Regions from separate parts of the Homo sapiens genome. Here regions 2, 3, 4, 5, 6 and 7 are each linked to region 1. Evidence: promoter capture Hi-C in human tissues and cell types (Jung and others, 2019). All regions are on one chromosome and are shown on one strand. The core of a region is centred on a gene start or on the middle of the fragment in contact, and the rest is flanking DNA. Distances in the headings are between cores, read along the strand shown. Region 1 holds the start of N4BP2 (NEDD4 binding protein 2). Region 2 has its middle 24 kb from the start of NSUN7. Region 3 has its middle 50 kb from the start of NSUN7. Region 4 overlaps NSUN7 (NOP2/Sun RNA methyltransferase family member 7). Region 5 has its middle 53 kb from the start of RBM47. Region 6 overlaps APBB2 (amyloid beta precursor protein binding family B member 2). Region 7 overlaps APBB2 (amyloid beta precursor protein binding family B member 2).

Evidence for each region. Contacts are between HindIII fragments. The study calls those that stand out against the background at their distance.
Region 2: a contact is called between a fragment that was not itself captured here and the fragment with the promoter of N4BP2 in region 1, in 1 of the 25 tissues and cell types used here (aorta).
Region 3: a contact is called between a fragment that was not itself captured here and the fragment with the promoter of N4BP2 in region 1, in 1 of the 25 tissues and cell types used here (lymphoblastoid cells).
Region 4: a fragment that was not itself captured here is called in contact with the fragment with the promoter of N4BP2 in region 1 in 1 of the 25 tissues and cell types used here (spleen).
Region 5: a contact is called between a fragment that was not itself captured here and the fragment with the promoter of N4BP2 in region 1, in 1 of the 25 tissues and cell types used here (IMR-90 fibroblasts).
Region 6: a fragment that was not itself captured here is called in contact with the fragment with the promoter of N4BP2 in region 1 in 1 of the 25 tissues and cell types used here (spleen).
Region 7: a contact is called between a fragment that was not itself captured here and the fragment with the promoter of N4BP2 in region 1, in 2 of the 25 tissues and cell types used here (H1 embryonic stem cells and thymus).

What each region holds. Positions count from the first base shown.
Region 1 is chr4:40,055,600-40,058,299 of GRCh38, reverse strand. It overlaps N4BP2 (NEDD4 binding protein 2), which reads right to left and starts at 1,450. Exons shown (of 18, transcript NM_018177.6): 1 at 1,270-1,450. It also overlaps the pseudogene LOC344967. RefSeq lists enhancers at 389-488, 589-638 and silencers at 829-1,178, 1,229-1,688, 2,029-2,238. The HindIII fragment of the contact is 26,276 bases long and covers 1-2,700 here.
Region 2 is chr4:40,724,187-40,726,886 of GRCh38, reverse strand. No RefSeq gene overlaps it. Among named protein-coding and RNA genes, the nearest start is that of NSUN7, 24 kb to the left of the region's middle. The HindIII fragment of the contact is 4,923 bases long and covers 1-2,700 here.
Region 3 is chr4:40,698,073-40,700,884 of GRCh38, reverse strand. No RefSeq gene overlaps it. Among named protein-coding and RNA genes, the nearest start is that of NSUN7, 50 kb to the left of the region's middle. RefSeq lists an enhancer at 1,601-2,374. The HindIII fragment of the contact is 4,986 bases long and covers 1-2,812 here.
Region 4 is chr4:40,796,829-40,799,528 of GRCh38, reverse strand. It overlaps NSUN7 (NOP2/Sun RNA methyltransferase family member 7), which reads right to left. Exons shown (of 12, transcript NM_024677.6): 10 at 625-742. Among named protein-coding and RNA genes, the nearest start is that of NSUN7, 48 kb to the right of the region's middle. The HindIII fragment of the contact is 5,844 bases long and covers 1-2,700 here.
Region 5 is chr4:40,681,099-40,683,798 of GRCh38, reverse strand. No RefSeq gene overlaps it. Among named protein-coding and RNA genes, the nearest start is that of RBM47, 53 kb to the right of the region's middle. The HindIII fragment of the contact is 3,688 bases long and covers 1-2,700 here.
Region 6 is chr4:40,883,098-40,885,916 of GRCh38, reverse strand. The region is part of intron 12 of APBB2 (amyloid beta precursor protein binding family B member 2); the gene reads left to right. Among named protein-coding and RNA genes, the nearest start is that of NSUN7, 130 kb to the right of the region's middle. The HindIII fragment of the contact is 4,774 bases long and covers 1-2,819 here.
Region 7 is chr4:40,854,917-40,857,616 of GRCh38, reverse strand. The region is part of intron 12 of APBB2 (amyloid beta precursor protein binding family B member 2); the gene reads left to right. Among named protein-coding and RNA genes, the nearest start is that of NSUN7, 110 kb to the right of the region's middle. RefSeq lists a silencer at 298-497. The HindIII fragment of the contact is 9,079 bases long and covers 1-2,700 here.

The DNA of each region.
Region 1 (2,700 bases), core at 201-2,700:
ACACGATGTTTACATTTCCTAAAGCGCGTCTTTTAGTTAAAATTAAAGGATGAGAGTTAAAACGAGTTACAAAAGACAGCTGGTGTTTGAAAGAAAAACACTGGAAGTAATAAAAACGGAGTGAAAAGGCTGATGTTGGGATTAAAAGAAAACATTTTTTTAATACAGCTGCAAATCAGTCATTGTTTTCTGAGAGGCTAGGTTCATCTCCAGGATTTTCTTCTAGGAGCTCAACCAATGGCCACCTTTACTGAGTTAACCAGTCTCCAGGCAAGCAGCCCTTGCTGATTGGCTCAAAGATGTCGAGTAGAAAAAGCAGCCAATCCTGCCTTCAAGCCAGAACTGTGCCATGGAGACATTACAACCACTGCATGGCGAGAATGTGTACAAACCTGTCCGTGCCACAAATATCAGATCCTAGTTACAAAGACTGCCGCCGAAAGGAAGAGCCTTTGAAGCCAACACTGACACTGACCTGTCATCTACATTCTATTACTCTAGCTCTCTTTCGGAGGGAAAAAAAAAACTATTTTAACCAAAAGCGCATGAGAGATAAACTGTGCCCCCGCTAAGATGACTCACTCTATTGAGGATGAATTTCCAAACGGACGGCTTAGAGAGAGTCCCGATGAGAGAGGGGCTCTAGAAGGGTCCCATTGAGGGACAAAGTTGCAGATGGGGGCAGGGGAGGCGGGACGAGGGCCAAAGACACACAAATGCCGGGGAGGGGAAAGTCTCCCCGCAGTCTCCAAAATCCGAACGTGTGAGTGGCTGTGTGTCTGGACTTGAACTGAGTAAATAAACGGCTCTGCTAGGACTATGTGCTCAGGAAGGTGGCCTGAAGTTCCCAGAAGGCTCCGCCTGGCAAACACCTAAGGCGCCTGGAGGGGCGCAAGGTCAGGTCCCGGCGGGAACAGATCTGGGAGGAAACCTCGGGGGGTCGAGAGGGGTGTGTCTGGGGCCTGGAGGCCCGCCAGGCACTCGGAGGCCAAGGAAGCGGCCGCGGCCCCCGCCTTCGCCCGGCCTCGGGCTGAGCGCCAGGGCCCGCCTCTCGCCGACGCCTCACTTCCCTTCCGTCCGGGCAGCCGGGCCCGCGGGTCAGATCGGAGGCGGCCCGCGCCGGGCCCCACATTCAGGGCTTGGGGGTTCATTCGCCGCGCCGCCCGCCGCTGCTTCAGGCCCTCCGCTTCGGCTCGGAGCCCCGGGACCCCTAACCTCCAGGGCCCTCACCTTGGACCCGCCTCCCTGCCTCCCACCCGCCGCCTTTACCTGCTTCTGGAGCGGGCAGAGGGCGTCGAAGCCGGTGCCGCGTCGTCGAACGCACAACGCGGCGCCGCAGGTCCGCAGCCCTTTCCCGCCGGCGCCACTGCGCTCTCCCGCGCCGCGCAAGGCTAGCAAGCAGCTGCGGCCGCGGGGGAGACACGGCGAGCGCGCCCGGCGGGGAGACACTGCCGCTCTCCGTCCGGCCGGGGAAGAGCAGCCGCGCAGAAGCCCGCCGCGAGAGGGCGGGTGGGCGGCCGGGTGGGGAGGGGTCTCGAGGCGCCGGCAATGGCTGCCACGTCGCCCAGGTGGATCGCCGCCCACCGCCCCCCCCCAAGCCCGCCGGCTGTCCGCCACGACCTCTGCTTCGTCCCCGAGCTCCGCCTCGGCGCGGCGGCCCGGGGGACTTGAGCCCGCGGGCGCTCCCACCTCTCCCGCTCCCGCTCTCCCGTTGGAGAGCAAGCCCTGCCCGGCCGGTTCGGCTGCTTCCGGTCGCCCACCCCCCAAGTCTCGCCCGAGAGCGGGCCGTGGTCCCCACTTTTCTTATCAGGGGGTCCCTGGAGGAGCAAGCCCTTCTTCGAGTGTCGGGTTCTGCTTGGGGGGAAGGCGGGAGCTGTTTGGCGCTGGGGAACATTGCAACAGGCCCGGAATTTTTGCCAAAATAAGCGGCGCGGTAAACCACAGCTGTTTCTAGCCCTCGGCACTCTCCCGAGCCCCAAAAAACAAAACAAACACAAGGTCGGCCTCGCGAGGTGAGGGGAGAAAGGAAAGCAGAGCTGGGACGAGCCCTGACGCGCGCGGGGTCCAGGCTGCAAGTTGGGAGGGACGGCGAGGCGAGCGACCGGCCTCGGCATTGCCTGACTAGGGCCGTGGCCGCTGCGGCGGGCACGGGAACCCGCCTTCTCGCGCGCGGCCCTCCCGCGGGGGGCTTCCGGGCGCGCGGCCTCGGAGCCCCACGGGGAGACAAAGGGGTAGGCGACTGCCACGGGGTGGAGGGAGGCTGCCCAGCCCCATCGGCCCTGCCAGCGTGCGGTCTGAGCTCGGGGAATGTGTGCGCCTTAGCCGGTGGAACCGCAGCCGCTGGCCTTTGCCCCCAGTTCGAGCTTGAGTTTTCGGATGCCAAGAAAAAGCAAAGACGTGCTCTTCCCTCTTGCGACCGCTGTAGTATGAGTCCGTCCCCAAGCCTGCACCATTTTTTTTCTCTCAACTCTGCTTTCCCTGGTTTATTTGTTCTGGGTTCTGATGTGAAATGTTTAGTGTTTTCAGGGTACGCAAATTTTTCACCTTTGCTTTCTGGTTGGTGGTGGTGGTGGTGATGGTAGTGGTGGTGGTTTTGCCTGTTTTTTACTTCCTCCGTCCCCTCCCTTTGCGGTTACTTTTCATTCCACTTGCAGTGGTTTTTCCCAGAATAGAGAAGCGAAATAACCTCATGACAAAGTG
Region 2 (2,700 bases), core at 184-2,683, 670 kb before region 1:
AGACACAAAATGCCATCTACTGTATGATTTCATTTATATGAAATGTCCCAAATAGGCAAATCCATGGAGACAAAAAGTAAATAGTGTTGCCAGGGGATGGTAGGAAGGAGGAATGAAAAGTGACTCCTAGTGGATACAGGATTTCTTTTGGGGGTGATGAAAAAATGTTCTGGAATTATATAGTGGTGATGGTTGCATGACTTTGTGAATATACTAAAAACCACTGAGTTGTATACTTTAAAATGTTGAATTTTATGGCATATGGAGTTATAACTCAATAAAAAATTGTAAGAGTAAAAAGTGAGAATGTATGGTTGAAATCAAATCCTTATAGACTACCCAATAAAATTAATTTCATCTAATTTATAAACATGCAGGTGACATCAGAGCAATCCTTTGTAATGCTATTATATAGCATATATTTACCTGGCTTAAAATTTAAGTATAAAATTAGAAATTGTTTACCGTCCTCATGTGAACCTGGGGAAAAAAATAAAGTTGCAATTTATGAATAATGGAATGAAAGAAACTGCTGGTGGTTCCAACAAAATTGGTCCAATTGAAAATAATTTTCGGCTGGGCACAGTGGCTCACGCCTGTAATCCCAGCACTTTGGGAGGCTGAGGTGGGCGCATCACCTGAGGTCGGGAGTTCGAGACCAGCCTGACCAACATAGAGAAACCCCGTCTCTACTAAAAATACAAAATTAGCTGGGCATGGTGGCGCATGTCTGTAATCCCAGCTACTCGGGAGGCTGAGGCAGGAGAGTTGCTTGAACCCGGGAGGCAGAGGTTGCGGTGAGCTGAGATCGCACCGTTGCACTCCAGCCTGGGCAACAAGAGCGAAACTCCATCTCAAAAAAAAAAAAAAGAAAGAAAATAATTTTCATAACTGATGAGCACATATTTATTAAGCCTTTACCATTTGTAAGACAATATGATGAGCATTTTGATAGGTTATCTACCATAAGGCCAGCATGATGCAAGGCTCTGTGAAGCTTACATATATTTTTCTATTATCAAAGAGATAATCAAATTGAAGGCTGTAAACTTTTTTTTTTTTTTTTTTTTTTTGATACAGAGTCTCACTCTGTCCCCGGACTGGAATGCAATGGCGTGATCTCGGCTGACTGCAACCTCTGCTTCCCGGGTTCAAGTGATTCTCCTGCCTCAGCCTCCCAAGTAGCTGGGATTACAGGCACCCACCACTATGCCTGGCTAATTTTTGTATTTTTAGTAGAGATGGAGGTTTTGTCTTGTTGGCCAGGCTGGTCTGGAACTCCTGACCTCAAGGGATCTGCCCACTTTGGCCTCTCAAAGTGCTGGGATTACAGGCGTGAGCCACTGCACCCGGCTGCTGTAAACATTTAAAACAGAATTTAATGTGGCCAGGCACAGTGCTTGTAATCACTGCACTTTGGGAGGCTGAGGTGGGTGGATCACTTGAGGTCAGGAGTTTGAGACTAGCCTGGCCAACATGGCAAAACCGCATCTCTACTAAAAATAAAAAAATTAGTCATGCTAGTGGTGGCACACGCCTGTAGTCCCAGCTACTTGGGAGGCGGAGGTTGCAGTGACCGAGATCGCGCCACTGCACTCCAGCCTGGGTGATAGAGTGAGACTCCGTCTCAAAAAAACCAAAAGCAAAAACAAAAACAGAATTTAATGCTACTTTTCAGAGTAGACAATATGTGATCAAGCTACCATTTAACTTGACCATTAATTTTTTTTTCCCGGAAAGAACATAATGGATTCTGGATTCTGTAGTCAGAGACCAACCTAGGTTCTGATCTTTAGTTACTAGCCATGTAACCTTGGACAAGTCATTTAATCTCTCAGTCTCAGTTTTCTCATCGGCAAAATGGAGATAATAATATTTCCTATCTTGCTGGGTTGCCCTGGGTTTTAATTAAGGCAATGTAGATAAAAGTTTTAGCATTGTGCCTAGTACCTCATAGACTTCAATTAATGTTAAATACGATATTTAGGGAAAAGATTATTTGATCAGCTATTTTTTCCAATTACAATTCATAAAGCAGCCTTGGAGATGGAAGATGTATCTTTACCTTAAAATAATGTCAATTTTTTTTTACTATTACTTTTCATTACATATTTCTGAAAACAAAAACTAAAAATGTAAAAAAGTCTTAACTAAAAGATAGATTTTGAATAGAGGCAATTAAAATATTTTATGTAAGACAGGTTTTATTTATTTATTCTTTTATTATTTTTTTTTTTTGAGAAGGAGTTTCGCCCTTGTCACCCAGGCTGGAGGGCAATGTTGTTATCTCGGCCCACTGCAGCCTCCGCCTCCTGGGTTCAAGTGATCCTCCTGCCTCAGCCTCCCGAGTAGCAGGGATTAGAGGTGCCCACCACCACGCCCACCTAATTTTTGTATTTTTAGTAGAGAAGAGGTTTCACCATGTGGGCCAGGCTGGTCTCAAACTCCTGACCTCAGATGATCCACCCACTTCAGCCTCCCAAAGTGCTGGAATTAGAAGCGTGAGCCACCACACCTGGCCTATTTATTCATTTATTTAAAAAAAATTTTTTTTTTAAGTAAGACAGGTTTTAAAATGTTGACTTGCCCCTGGCACAGTGGCTGACATCTGTAATCCCAGCACTTTGGGAGGCCGAGGCGGGAGGATCACTTGAGCTCAGGAGTTCAAGACCAGCCTGGGTGATATGGTGAAACCCCATT
Region 3 (2,812 bases), core at 281-2,780, 640 kb before region 1:
TCACTGCAACCTCTGCCTCCCGGGTTCAAGCAATTCTCCTGCCTCAGCCTCTGGAGTAGCTGAGATTACAGGCGTGTGCCACCACGCCTGGAAAATTTTTGTATTGTTAGTAGAGATGGGGTTTCACCATGTTGGCCAGGCTGGTCTCAAACTCCTGACCTCAAGTGATCCACCCACCTTGGCCTCCCAAAGTCACAGACGTGAGCCACCGCTCCCAGACTTATTTCTTTATAATAGAATACAACCCATTAAGCTTAGCAAGCAGAAAAAAAATGGAGCATAGTCCTATTCTTCCATATTCTTAGGCAAGCTCCTACATTTCTCCAGGTTTTGATTTCATGCTCTACAATTAGCGGTGGCAAACTAAGAACTGAACATCAAATCCAGCCTACCACCTGTTTTTATATGGCCAGTGGGCTAAAGATAGTTTTTATATCTACAAATTGAAAAAAAATCAAGAGAAGACTAATATTCTGTGGCATGCAAAGCTATATAAAATTCAAATTTCAGAATCCATAAATAAGGTTCTTATTGGAACACAGACAGGCTAATTTGTTTATGTATTTTCTGTAGCTGCTTTCACACTACAATGGCAGAACTGAGTACTATGTAAGTTTTTAAATAAATGAAAGCAATTTAATTGTTTTTCATCAATTGAAGTATAATCTTTAAAATGAATTTGGTAAAACCTCCTCACTTGAGGTCGGGAGTTCGAGACCAGCCTGGCCAACATGGTGAAACCCTGTCTCTAATAAAAATACAAAAAATTAGCCAGGTGTGGTGGCCAGTGCCTGTAATCCCAGCTACTCGGGAAGCTGAAGCATGAGAATCGCTTGAACCCGGGAGGAGGAGGTTGCAGTGGGCTGAGATCTCACCACTGCACTCTAGCCTGGGCGACATCTTAAAAAAAAAGTCCTAGCTGTTTCCTTCAAGTACAAGTTCAGGTTTTTAAATGGATGTTCTAACATTCTCTTTTCAATCAGAATTTCAACCACAAAAATCAGAGAAAGATGAGTCAGAGTCAAGTCTACCCAACAGGGAGTCAGAATGGAATTCTTGAGTAGATTCGTCCCAAGTTTCAATTTCTACCACTGATTACCCAAGAAATATGGCACTTAACTTCTTCGAGCCTCAGTTTTCTCATCTGTAAAATGGCAGTAAACATAGTTATCTCTAGGGCCGAGCTAGTACATGAGAGCATCCCAGGTATTATTAATTTAGTGTCTTTATTTCAAACCAATATTCCTTAAATATTTATTTACTGTTAGTGGGAGTGAAGAGAAATTGTTTTCCTATTGACAAAAATAAATTGCTCATCATTTTTTAATGTTCAAAATATTTCTTACATGAAGTTATTTTGAATCACCTTTTATTTTGCAGTTTTTTGCATCTCTTGGAACTGTCAGTTACTCTTAGCCACCAAAGATTAGGCCAACATATATAGATATATTTATTAAGTCTAATTCAAAATACATTTGAGATGCTGGGTGCGGTGGTTCACCCCTGTAATCCCAGCACTTTGGGAGGCTGAGGCGGGCGGATCACCTGAAGTCAGGAGTTCAAGACCAGCCTGGCCAACATGGTGAAACCCTGTCTCTACTAAAAATACAAAAATTAACTGGGCATGGTGGTGCGGGCCTGTAGTCCCAGCTACTCGGGAGGCTGAGGCAGGAGAATCGCTTGAACCCAGGGGGCGGATGTTGTAGTGAGCTGAGATGGCATCACTGCATTCCACCCTAGGTGACAGAGTGAGACTCTATCTCAAAAACAAAACAAAAACAAAAACAAACCCCTCCCATCTTGTTCTTGTCTCTGTGTGTGTGTCTGTATGCTCACATATACATGTTTGTGTGTATACTTTCCTGAAGCAGACCTTTTGTTAAGGGATAGATTAAAGCTGTTATAATTTAAATGATAAAGAGTAAAGTCCTCCTCAGTAAAGAACACTAAGCCCATGCATTGTTTTGCTCCAGATTTGAATCTCCCCTGGCTGCCTTAGGCCTCAGGGTTAGTGCCCTGTGGTCATTGAACTTGTAAGCCCTCCAGATTCTGAAAAGACACAGATGCCACACTAACAAGAATTATCTTTTATTTGCATTCAAGGGCTCTGTATGATCTGATGCGATTGAGACCAATTTACATTTTTAAAAATGTTTAGACGTATATAGACATATTTTTTTTTTTGGCTGCTCCATGGACAGAGCAGGGCCATCCCACAGGCAGAGTAGCCCAATTTACATTTTGCCTGTTGAGTAGGGAATGGGGGTGGAAATCTGAGTTAATGGTCATCAGATTTCTGATTTATTACAATGATCTTATAGAATGGTCTCCTTGAGCTGACTCATGGTTGAATCCTATGAGGACTAAATAAGATAATATGTACATAAGGCCAGGCGCAGTGGCTCACCCCTGTAATCCCAGCACTTTGGGAGGCCAAGGCTAGCAGATCACTTGAGGTCAGGATTTCAAGACCAGCCTGGCCAACATGGTGAAATCCTGTCTCTACTAAAAATACAAAAATTAGCTGTGTGTGGTGGCATGCACCTGTAATCTCAGCTTCTCGAGAGGCTGAGGTGGGAGAACCTCTTGAACCTGGGAGGTGGAGGTTGCAGTGGGCTGAGATCGCACCACTGCACTCCCGCCTGGGCAACAGAGTGAGACCCTGTCTCGAAAAAAAAAAAGTACATATATAAGATACTCTCTTACTACCTTACTGCTTGACACAAACTAGGCACTGAAAGAAAGGTGATTGACAGAGTCATTGTCACCCTGTTGCAGATACCTCCTCAGAAACAGAAGATACATCAAAGCA
Region 4 (2,700 bases), core at 75-2,574, 740 kb before region 1:
TTTGCCATATCATATTCTTTTTTTTTTTTTTTAAACACACAGGGTTTCACCATGTTGCCCAGGCTGGTCTTGAACACCTGAGGTAAAGGTATGTGCCCACCTCAGCCTCCCAAAGTGCTGGGATTACAGGTGTGAGCCACCGCACCAGGCCAGCCATATCATTTCTTAAATCCCAGCACTTTGGGAGGCCAAGGCAGGTGGATTACCTGAGGTCAGGAGTTTGAGAGCAGCCTGGCCAATACGGTAAAACCCCCATCTCTACTAAAAATACAAAAATTAGCCTGGCGTGGTGGCACTTGCCTGTAATCCCAGCCACTTGGGAGGCTGAGGCAGGAGAATTGCTTGAACCTGGGAGGCGGAGTTTGTAGTGAATCGAAATGGTGCCACTGCACTCCAGCCTGGATGACAGAGCAAGATTCCATCTTTAAAAAAAAAAAAAAAAAAAAAAAAAAAAAGAAAAAGGCCCTATGGAATCTTGGTTAAATTTGTAAGAAGTCAGGCAATTTTATCATACTAAAGTATAATTTTAAAAAGTAGAATGTCTTTATACAACTTAGAAAATAATATTTTTCCTTTTAAAAAATATTTGTTTGAGTTGTTTAGAAGAATCCTTCCTTTTCTTACCTGTAAGGTTGTCCTTTATTCCCAAGGTCTTGAAATTCCAGTGCTTTCTTAACAACAGCTTCATTTTCTTCTGGAAAAACTGAACATGTGCAGTAAACAACTGCTTGAGCTTTAGTAACTATATTAGAAGAAGATGCAATGACTGTAACAACTATATTAACAATCCTATACAAATGTGCTATGTTTCCAAACATCTATTTGATACTAATACCACATGGTTTTGATGAGAATAATTTCCCCAGATGCTTGAATGGCTCCCCTTTAAAGTAAAAGCTTGTCTTAGTAATTTAGTCTGTGGCCAGTAAGTAAAGTCACTCTAACTGGATTGTATGGAAATTGAAAATTCAACAAAAAATGAGGCCAACTTAGTTATAAACACAAATAAATAAATACTGCAGGTTACCATGAACTTGATACTTCTGCCCATTCTTCTACAAGCGATATTGCCTAAATAGTTTAAAGGACTCTAGAAACAGACAGACTTAGAGGTGAATCCCAGTTCTGTCACTTACTGCTGTATGAACCTGGGCAAATTACTTAAAGTCTTAAATTTTTCATCCGTAAAATGAGGTAATACTACCACCTGCAATTCACTCATTGATTCATACTTATTGAGCACCTACCACCTGCCAGACAGGCACTGTTCTAGGCTTTGGGATACAATAACACAAACAAAAATCCTTGCCCCTGTGGAGCTAACTTTCTAGTAGAGGAGAAAGACAGTAAGACAGAGATAAATAGGAAAACTATATAGTACTGTTAAGTGATCAATGCTATGGAGAAAAGCAGAGCCGGGTGAGGGATAGAGAGTTCCAGGAGAAATAGTGTGAAATAGAGCAGTGAGAGAAAGCATTGTTGAGATGGCAAACTGTGGGTAGACTAGATGGAGATAAGGAACCAGCCACAGAGCTATTTAGAGAAAAGCATTCTAAGGTAAAGGAACAGCCAGTGTAAAGGCCTGAAGTCAACATGGTGCTGGTATGTTCCAGGAAAGTGAAGGGGCCGGTTTGATCAGAGCAGAGGGAATGAAGAGAGAGTAGTAAGTCGAAGTCAGAAAGCATGGTCTGAGCCCCAGATAGTACAGGGACTTGTGGGCCACCGGAAGGGCTTAGGTTTTTACTTGGGTTATGATGGGTTTTAACAAGATCACTCCAATTGCTGTGTTAAGAATAGAGTGCAGAGGGCAGGGGCAGAGGCTGGCAGAGAAATTAGGAGGTCATTACAGTAATTCAAGTGTGAGGTGATGGTGGTTTGGACACCGTGGTAGTGGTGGAGGTAGCTGGATATATTCTGGATATAAGTTGAATGTAGAACCTACCTCATACACTGACAGACTGGCTGTGGGTATGAAAGAGAAATCATGGATAATGCTAACGTTTTTAGCCTAAGCGGGTGGAAGGCTACAACTATCATTAACTGAAATGGCAGTACTGTGGGAGGAACAAGTATGGCGGGAGGAAGATCAGAGCTTCCACCTTAGACATGTTAGCTTTGAGATGACTATGAGTCCCTAAGTGGAGATGTCAAGAAGGCAGCTGGAAATATAAGCTTAGAGTTTCAAGAGGAAGTTTAGACTGGAAATACAGATTTGGGAGTCACATAGAGGTGTTTAAAACCATAAGACTAGATACAATCACCAAGGGATAAGTATAGGCAGAGAAAAAAGATCCAAGGCATGGACTGTGGCACACTCCCATGTTAAACAGGGTGTTGAGACAGAGAGGACCCAGTAAGGGAGACAGAGAAGGGGAGGCCAGAGAGAAGGCCTGGAAGGTGGTGCCCTAGAAGACAAGTGATGGAAGTGTGTGAAGGGAGAGGAAGCGACCACTTCTGTCAACTGCCACAGACAGACCTAGGTAGACCAGGGCTGGCAACTGACACAACAGCATGGGGATCACTGGCGATCTTCACAGGACCGTTTCAGTTTAGTGGCAGGAGTGAACGTGTGATGGCAATAGCTCAAAAAAGAAGGAGAGGAAAGACTGAGGAAACACTGTTCCCAGGGGAAAGGCAAGTTACAGGAATTTTTTACAAAGGGGGAGGACATTCAAAGAAGTTAAAATATAGGGAATTTTT
Region 5 (2,700 bases), core at 109-2,608, 630 kb before region 1:
CTGTAATCTCAACACTTTGGGAGGCCGAGGTGGGTGAATCACCTGAGCTCAGGAATTCGAGACCAGCCTGGGCAACAGCTGGTCTGAAATTAGCCAAGATGGTGGCTAATTTCAACATTTTGAAATACAAAAATTAGCCGGGCGTGGTGGCAGGCACCTGTAATTCCAGCTACTAGGGAGGCTGAGGCAGGAGAATCGCTTGAACCCCAGAGGCAGACGTTGCGGTGAGCCGAGATCGCGCCATTGCACTCCAGCCTGGGCAACAAGAGTGAAACTCCGTCTCAAAAAAAAAGAAAAAAGAAAAGAAAAAGTTCTGGAGATGGATGGTGGTGATGGTTGCACAACAATGTGAATGTACTTCATGCCATTGAACCACACACTTAAAAATGGTTAAAATGGTTAATTTTATGTTGTGTACATTTTGCCACAATAAAAAAGAAACACGGGCCAGGCACAGTGGCTCATGCCTGCCATCTCAACACTTTGGGAGGCTGAGGTGGGCAGATCACCTGAGCTCAGGATTTTGAGACCAGCCTGGGCAACAGCTGGTCTGAAATTATCCAGGCTGGTGGCTAATTTCAACATTTTGAAATACAAAAATTAGCCGGGCATGCTGGCAGGCGCCTGTAATTCTAGCTACTAGGGAGGCTGAGGCAGGAGAATCACTTGAACCCAAGAGGCAAAGTTGCAGTAAGCCAAGATTGTGTCACCACACTCTAGCCTGGGCGACAGAACCAGACTCTGCCTAAAAAAAAAAAAAAAAAAAAGGAAGAAAACACTTGGGGACCTAAAACCACAACGCTTTTCGAGTTAGAATTTTGGCCAGCTCATCTCTGCCCTATATGGTGTCTGCTGGGACAGTTCAACTGGGACCGAAGCATCCAAGATGGCCTCCTTTGCCACGCTGGTGCTGGCTCTTAGCTGGGATGCCTCTCTTTTCCTCCATGTGGACTCAACCTTCAAGGCTTCTTTCTCCACGTTGCTGCTGTCTACAGCTGGACAGCCTGAACTTCTTTACAAGGCAGTTGGGTTCTCAGAGAGAAAGCAAAAGCTCTAGATCTCTTAAGATCTGGGCTTGAAGTCCCATCACCTCTCAGTGGTTCAGGCGAGTCATTTTGCTGGTACGGATCCTGCGTGGGAGGGGAGGACACACGGGTGAATTCAGAGGGGCATGGTTCCTTTAGGGCCATTTTGTAACAATCTACTACAGCCTCCATGCCAATTTATTAGCATTTCTCCATGCTCTGCCTTATCTTGAATTCTGTTCTAGTACAATATCTCCAGATTAGCACATAGGGTCATTGTTAAGACGATGGACTTTGGCCTAAGGCTTCAAATCTTGGCTCTGCCATTTGTTGACTGTGAGACCTTTGGCCAGTTCTTTACTCTCTCTCTGTTTCAGTTTTCTTACCTATAAAATGGGGATGACAATAGTCTTTATGTCATCGTGTTGCTGTGAGTATTGAATGAATATGAATAAAAAGCTTAGTAACAGTGCCAGGCACAAAGTAAGAACTATATAAGCGTTTGCCATTATTGTTATTGTCATTGTCGTTGTTATAATAAACATAAGAAGCAGCATGGTGGAGAAGGGAATATTTAGAGCTAAATAAGACAGAAAGGTTGGAAACGCTTGGATACACAGGACCTCCCTGCCTCACAGAGTTCTCACTTACATCTAAATCCTTTGCTGACATTTAAGCTTCTTTCCTTTTGTTCTCTACACAGGAGACATGGAGAACAGCTGATCAACATCTCTCCATAATAATCCTCTGAACACCTGAAGACAGCTGTGAGAGCTTAAAGATTTGCTGAGGCTAATCTGGGTACAGGTAATTGTGTTGATGATATGTTCAAATGCATCTAAGTCTATGCCTGAGTATAGTTGCTGGGTTATAAACAGGCACGTCACACTTCTCTTATACACTTCAGGAAGCTGGAGCGCTGGGTCTTGTTTTCCCTGAAGGCATTAGGGAATGTGCCTGCTCTTTTTCAGAGCGTAAACCTGGAATAGGTTTCCAACGAGGACAATGCAAGCCAGGGCTGAGAGGTGCCATGTGTATGGCACACTGCTGGCCCCAAAGACCAGTTAGGCCAGGAACCAATCCTGTTGAACAGTTAATTAGCACCTATTGTTTATTACTGTGAGTTCTTTCTGAGCTTACCAGTGGCCCTTTTGCCTAATCCAATGGACACTTTTCTTTTTTCTTTTCTTTCTTTTTTTTTTGAGATGGAGTCTCGCTGTCACCCAGGGTGGAGTGCAGTGGTGCCATCTCAGCTCACTGCAACCTCTGCCTCCCAGGTTCAAGCTATTCTCCTGCCTCAGCCTCCCAGGTAGCTGGGACTACAGGCATGAGCCACCAAGCCCGGCTAATTTTTGTATTTTTAGTAAAGTCAGGGTTTTGCCATGTTGGCCAGGCTGGTTTCGAACTCCTGACCTCAGGTGATCCACCCACCTTAGCCTCCCAAAGTGCTAAGATTCAGGTGTGAGCCACTGCGTCTGGCCCCAGTAAGCACTTTTCTATCCTCAGCTTCATGGACAGCCTTGCTGCATTTGCCATCTTGTCTTATTTTGGAGTGAAGCAGTACATTGTGATGTATTGGAGCCAGAATGCCTGGATCCAAGTCCTAGCTCTGCCCTTTGCAGCTCCATTGACCTTGAGCAAGTTACTTAACCTTTGAGTTTCATCATCTTTATCT
Region 6 (2,819 bases), core at 135-2,634, 830 kb before region 1:
GGAAACTGAGTTAAACCAAGTACACTGGGCCCTCTCAGAGGTTTTCCTACGCTGAGATGCACTAGGACTCTGCAAGAAAGCGTTTCCCAGGCTTGGCTGGACCGTTTCCTCGGTGGAAACACAATCACATGGAACACACTTCAGGAAATATTGCTGTCATTAGTAAACTCATTCATTTAAATTCGTGGCAACACTAAACTGCTATTTTTGATTATTAAGAAAAATTGGAATTACTTTTAATGAATATTATAAGTGGAGACCCCATTGGGCCTGCTCTAATGAAGATAAAATTTCTTCATAATGAATGGCAACTATGAGAAACACACTCACCCATCCAAACCCCAAGAATGGACTTAGAGGCACGAAGAACAGTGAAAGTGAGACTTTTTAATAACAGTCTTGCGAGATCGGGTATCTGGTGGGCAGGCACACCTGGGACAGTCACAACAGGTAATTTATCTCCTAGCACGCCAGTCCCTCCCCCAATTCCTCACTGGCCGAGTACTATGGGGCTACAATCTTCCTGGACATTACCTAAGTTTCATTATCCCCCTTATAAGGTTATACCTCATTCCCTTCCCCGCTTAATTTTCATTTCCCAATAAGAAAACTTTCTTCCCTTTAATGGGCTGACCCCTCCTCTACATTCTGTTAGCTTATTGTGACTTTCTAGGTGCATGAGCCATGTGGTTTGTTACATTTGCAGCCTGGCTGCCAGGACTTAGATTTATCATGCCTTGAAAATGGACCATTTAAAATGTTTTCTCACACAACCATCAACAGTCATGATGTGTGCAGTGCTTTTTAAACAGTGCTCTCTTATTCAGGTTCAGTGTTTACCCTGTGATGTTGCTTATGCTTACAGATTGTGTAGCCAAACTTCTCTTCCTTGAAGGTGTTTAATACCTTTCTTTTCTGGTTTTGATGAACAACTTTTAATAAAATCTTTCTGTGTCATAGATTATTCATAAATTTCCAAATGAGGTTATCTTTGACTTGATTGTTCTATCTGATTATGATCTCAGGAACTTTTGTCTAAAGAATATAGTGTCCACTGTACCGAATTTTTTTTCATATTCTCTTCTAAGGTATTCCCAGCTGTATTTATCCACCAAGACCCTGGCCCAAGTTGTTTTATTTCTTTTTATTTTTAGAGACAGGGTCTTGCTCTGTTGCCCAGGCTGGAGTACAGTGGCGTGATCATCACTCACTGCAGCCTCCAAATTCCTGGGCTCAAGCGATCCTCCTGCCTCAGCATCCTGAGTTAGCTGGGACTACAGGTGTTTTTTTTATTTTTATTTTTGTAGATACGGGGTCTCACTTTGTTGCCCATGCTGGTCTTGAACTCCAGGCTTCAAGCAGTCCTCCCACTTCGGCCTCCCAAAGTGCTGGGATAGCAGGTGCGAGCCCCTGTGCCTGGTTAGGATGTTTTAAAAAAGGCCTTTGTCACATGTACTTTATGTTCTTGTTTTCATGCCAGTGCTGTTCTGCTGCTTTGTTTTGACTTCTTTTGAAAACACTGCTTAATTTTGTGGAGGAGTTCAGGGATCCTGAGGAATATTGGGATTAATTATTTAGAATATGCAAAACTTTGACTCATAGGTTTTTAGATTTAAAAGGTGCTTTAGTATTAGTGTCTTTCAGTCTCTTTATTTTAGAGGTTAGGAAACTGAAGACAGAAGAGTGTGATTACCTTAGGTGACCCATGTAGTTTGTGGCAGAGCAAAAAACACACCCCAGGTATTTTTGCCAGCCCAAATGGGAAGCTACTCTGTTCATCTTGACAAGAGATGGTGAATGGTCTAAATGTCCCGGGGTTGGCAGGGGAGGAGAGGCTGGGTCAGATACGTCCTAAATACTATGTTAGGCAGCAGCAGGACACAGAAGGCTATGGCATGGTCCCTGTCCTTACAGTCTGGCTTCTTCATTGAAGAGATAAGACCACATGAGTGAATGGAAAGCAAAGGTGGACACACCATGTTCCTGAGCCTCGTTTTTGTGGGTCCATGAGCTGAGAATAGTTTCCACATTTTCAAAGCATTAAGAAAAAGAACGGGGGACCCAGATATGGGAACTCAGCACAGCCCAGCTCTTCATAGAAGGAACATTTGAGTAATAACATACTCAGAATGGAACGAGGCGATCTTTGTAGCTGCTGTATATAGAAAGTCGTTGTGGAAAGGGCCCATTTTTTTTTTTTTTTTTTGGCAGTCTCTATCTCCCTTCCTAGCCATGTCTTCTACTAGCAGCATTCGGGGGTCCCTGAAAGCACGGCTTAGCCTTGCTACTGTTCCGTAGAGTTAAGCTTGAGTAAGTTTTTCTTTTTTTTCAGATTGAGTTTCACTCTTGTTGCCCAGGCTGGAGTGCAGTAGCATGATCTCGGCTCACTGCAACCTCCACCTCCTGGGTTCAAGCAATTCTCCTGCCTCAGCCTCCCAAGTAGCTGGGATTACAGGCATGCGCCACCATGCCCAGCTAATTTTTGTATTTTTAGTAGAGGCGGGGTTTCGCCGTGTTGGTCAGGCTGGTCTTGAACTGCTGACATCAGGTGATCTGCCCTCCTCGGCCTCCCAAAGTGCTGGGATTACTGGTGTGAGCCACCGTCTCGCTCTGTTACCCAGGCTAGAGTGCAGTGATGTGATCATAGCTCACTGCAGCCTTGAACACCTTGGGCTCAAGTGATCTTCTCACCTCAGCCTTCTGTGTATTATAAAAGGGTATAGGGCAGGCTGCTGCCACAAGTACTCTGCAGTCCACTGGCTTCAGTGCCAGAGGTTAGTTCTCATGCCACAGCTGCAGTGGGCACTGCCACCTGGAAG
Region 7 (2,700 bases), core at 115-2,614, 800 kb before region 1:
CGCCTGTAATCCCAGCTGCTAGGGAGGCTGAGGCAGGAGAATCGCTTGAACCTGGGAAGCGGAGGTTGCAGTGAGCCGAGATCGTGTCACTGCACTCCAGCCTGGGCGACAGAGCGAGACTCTGTCTCAAGAAGAAAAGAAAAGAAACCAGAAACCCAGCAGGCCTAGAGCATCAACTTTTTCTAAAGAGGTTCAGTGGGTTTGAATGAAGTTTCTAAGTCTTGAGAGTCCAAAAAGGAAACGTTCGTTACAGGAAGGGAGTATGTTGGGGTGGGGGATCCTCCTTGCCGGCCCTGAGCCAGTCCCCTAGCAGCTGGAGCATCTGGCGGGAGCACCTAGCGGGAGCACTTCACGGGAGTGCGGCCGGGTGGGGCGGGGCCACGCGCCTCCCCAGCAGCCAATGGGCGGCCGCGGCGGGCGGGGCAGGGAGGGCGCAGGGAGGCGCGGGCGCCGCTCTCTTCAACTTGAGCCCGGGGCAGTGCGCGCGGCTGCTTGAGCGACGGCACCGCTGGCTGGTGCCGGCACCCTGGGGCTTGTCGTAGCACCTGGGGCGGCATCCCCGCCCGACTTCGGAAGGACCGGGAGGCAAAGGTGAGGAAGTTGGCGAAGGAACGGCTCTCCTTTGTTTGCAGGTGCGTTCAGGGGGAACGGGGGTCGAGCCCAAGCTCGCTCGCGGGGACAGCGAGGCGGGCGCGGGAGACCTGCGGGACAAAGGCTGCGCCCTCCCTTCCCCGAGTCAGCGCTTAGCGAGTTGCCTGGTCCTGGACGGCTGGAAGGGCTGAAGAGGGGGCTTTCTGCCCCGCCGGTGGGAAGAAGGAGTGAGGCTTGTATGAAATGGGGGGGAGGCGTCCTTGGACCCCCAATTCGCCAGTGCAGCAGGACTGTTCGGGGTGGGCTATTCATTGATGGGGTCTGCACGGGGCATTTCTGCCGTGGACAGCGTTCTATGATTGAGGCAGTGACTGCCTTCGCCTCACGTGCCCCCTGGTGAGGCCACATTTCTGTCTTCCTGTCTACATTAGGACTGAAAGATATTTCAGGGTTTTGGTAATCCAGTATTTGGATTAAAAGCAATATCCTTTCGTGTAGAAAAACTGTGCATTTCCAAATGATTTTAGTTACACGATTTAGGATATTGGTGTGACTTCCATGCGAGAAAATATCTCAAATTCCCCAAATGTAGAAACGCAGCCAGCTCTTGGCATTGAGAAAGAAGTAGTGTTTTTGAAAAGAAAGGCGTGAAGATTTAAATATTGCTTACAACACTCTATTAGCTTGTGGGGGAATCTGTGCCTTTTCTATTATCTGTTTCCCTATACCAATATTGTAACCAGGCACGTCTATGGATTCCTAATTAATGTGTAGCTGTGAATCTTCATTACTGCCTTGGGTGGGAGAAGGCGGAAGGAGGGGGCAATCCCATTAGTCTTTTTCTTTCTTTTTATAACTGCAGCTGCAGCCTGGCTTTGACTTGTATCATGAATGGGGGTTCTGCCTGCTTTCCTCATGCTGTTCTCTTTTAGGTTTTCTTAGGCCATTGAGCAGTTGGCCCTTCCTCCAGCCGAGCTCTTACACAAGAGTAGTTTGTAAGATTCTCTCTAAAGTTCAGATCCTTGCTGCTGCCTTTTAGTTAGTTGAGTTCAGAAAGGAATTATTAAGTGTCCTGAGGCCTTTCCTAAGAAGTTAGAAGCAGAATGTGTTTGTAAATGTGGTCTGTAATTTTGTAAAAGTTATAAGTAAAAGGGAGTGTGAATGAAATGCTTAAGAGGGGAAAGACTTTCCATAAAGCATCAGCCAGTATTATCAAAGAAGGTGTCATGGTTTGTAGCTCAGTAAGAACCCTACTTTCCGTTTTGCTTCCTTTTTTTTGTTTTTTTTTTTGAGACAGAGTCCCTCTCTGTCACCCAGCCTGTAGTGCAGTGGCACAATCTCGGCTCACTGCAACCTCTGCCTCCCAGGTTCAAGTGATTCTCCTGCCTCAGCCTCCTGAGTAGCTGGGACTATAAGTGCACACCACCACACCCGGCTAATTTCTGTTTTTTTGAGTAGAGACGGGATTTCACCATGTTGGCCAGGCTGGTCTCGAACTGCTGACCTTGGGTGATCCACCTGCCTCGGTTCTCCCAAAGTGCTGGGATTACAGGCATGAGCCACCATGCCTGGCCTCATTTTATCATTCTCACTTTGCAGATGTGAGAAACACACTTTTCTAACAGCCGCCACGTTGTTTAGTTCTAGCTTTTCTGCAATGGGGATAATTTATTTAATAAGTATTTATTGGACACTTGCCATGTGCTGGGCATTGGTGCTGGTGATTAAGTGGCATAATAAATACAACAGGTGTCTTCTTCCTTTCTTGGAGCTCACACTATGCTGGCGTGGGGCCCATTGCAGGTTCTCTGCACTGGAGCATCCCTGGGAAGCAGTGTGGATGACACCAAGGTGAGACAAGAAGATACTGCTGCTGATGGCCGCCTTGGAGGTCAGCTGAGCATGTGGCAGTAGGCGCAAACAACGAGGGGCCTCAGGTCATCTGCACTCCAAGGGTGGAAGTATTAATCACACCAGTGGGCCATTGGGCACTAAAGTCGGTCATCTTGAACTTGCTTACTTTGATCTCAAAGGAGCCTGCAGCTGCAAGGAGGGGCAGAGCTGAGTTCTAAAGAGTTTGAACATTGGCATTGTTGATTTCAATGGGGT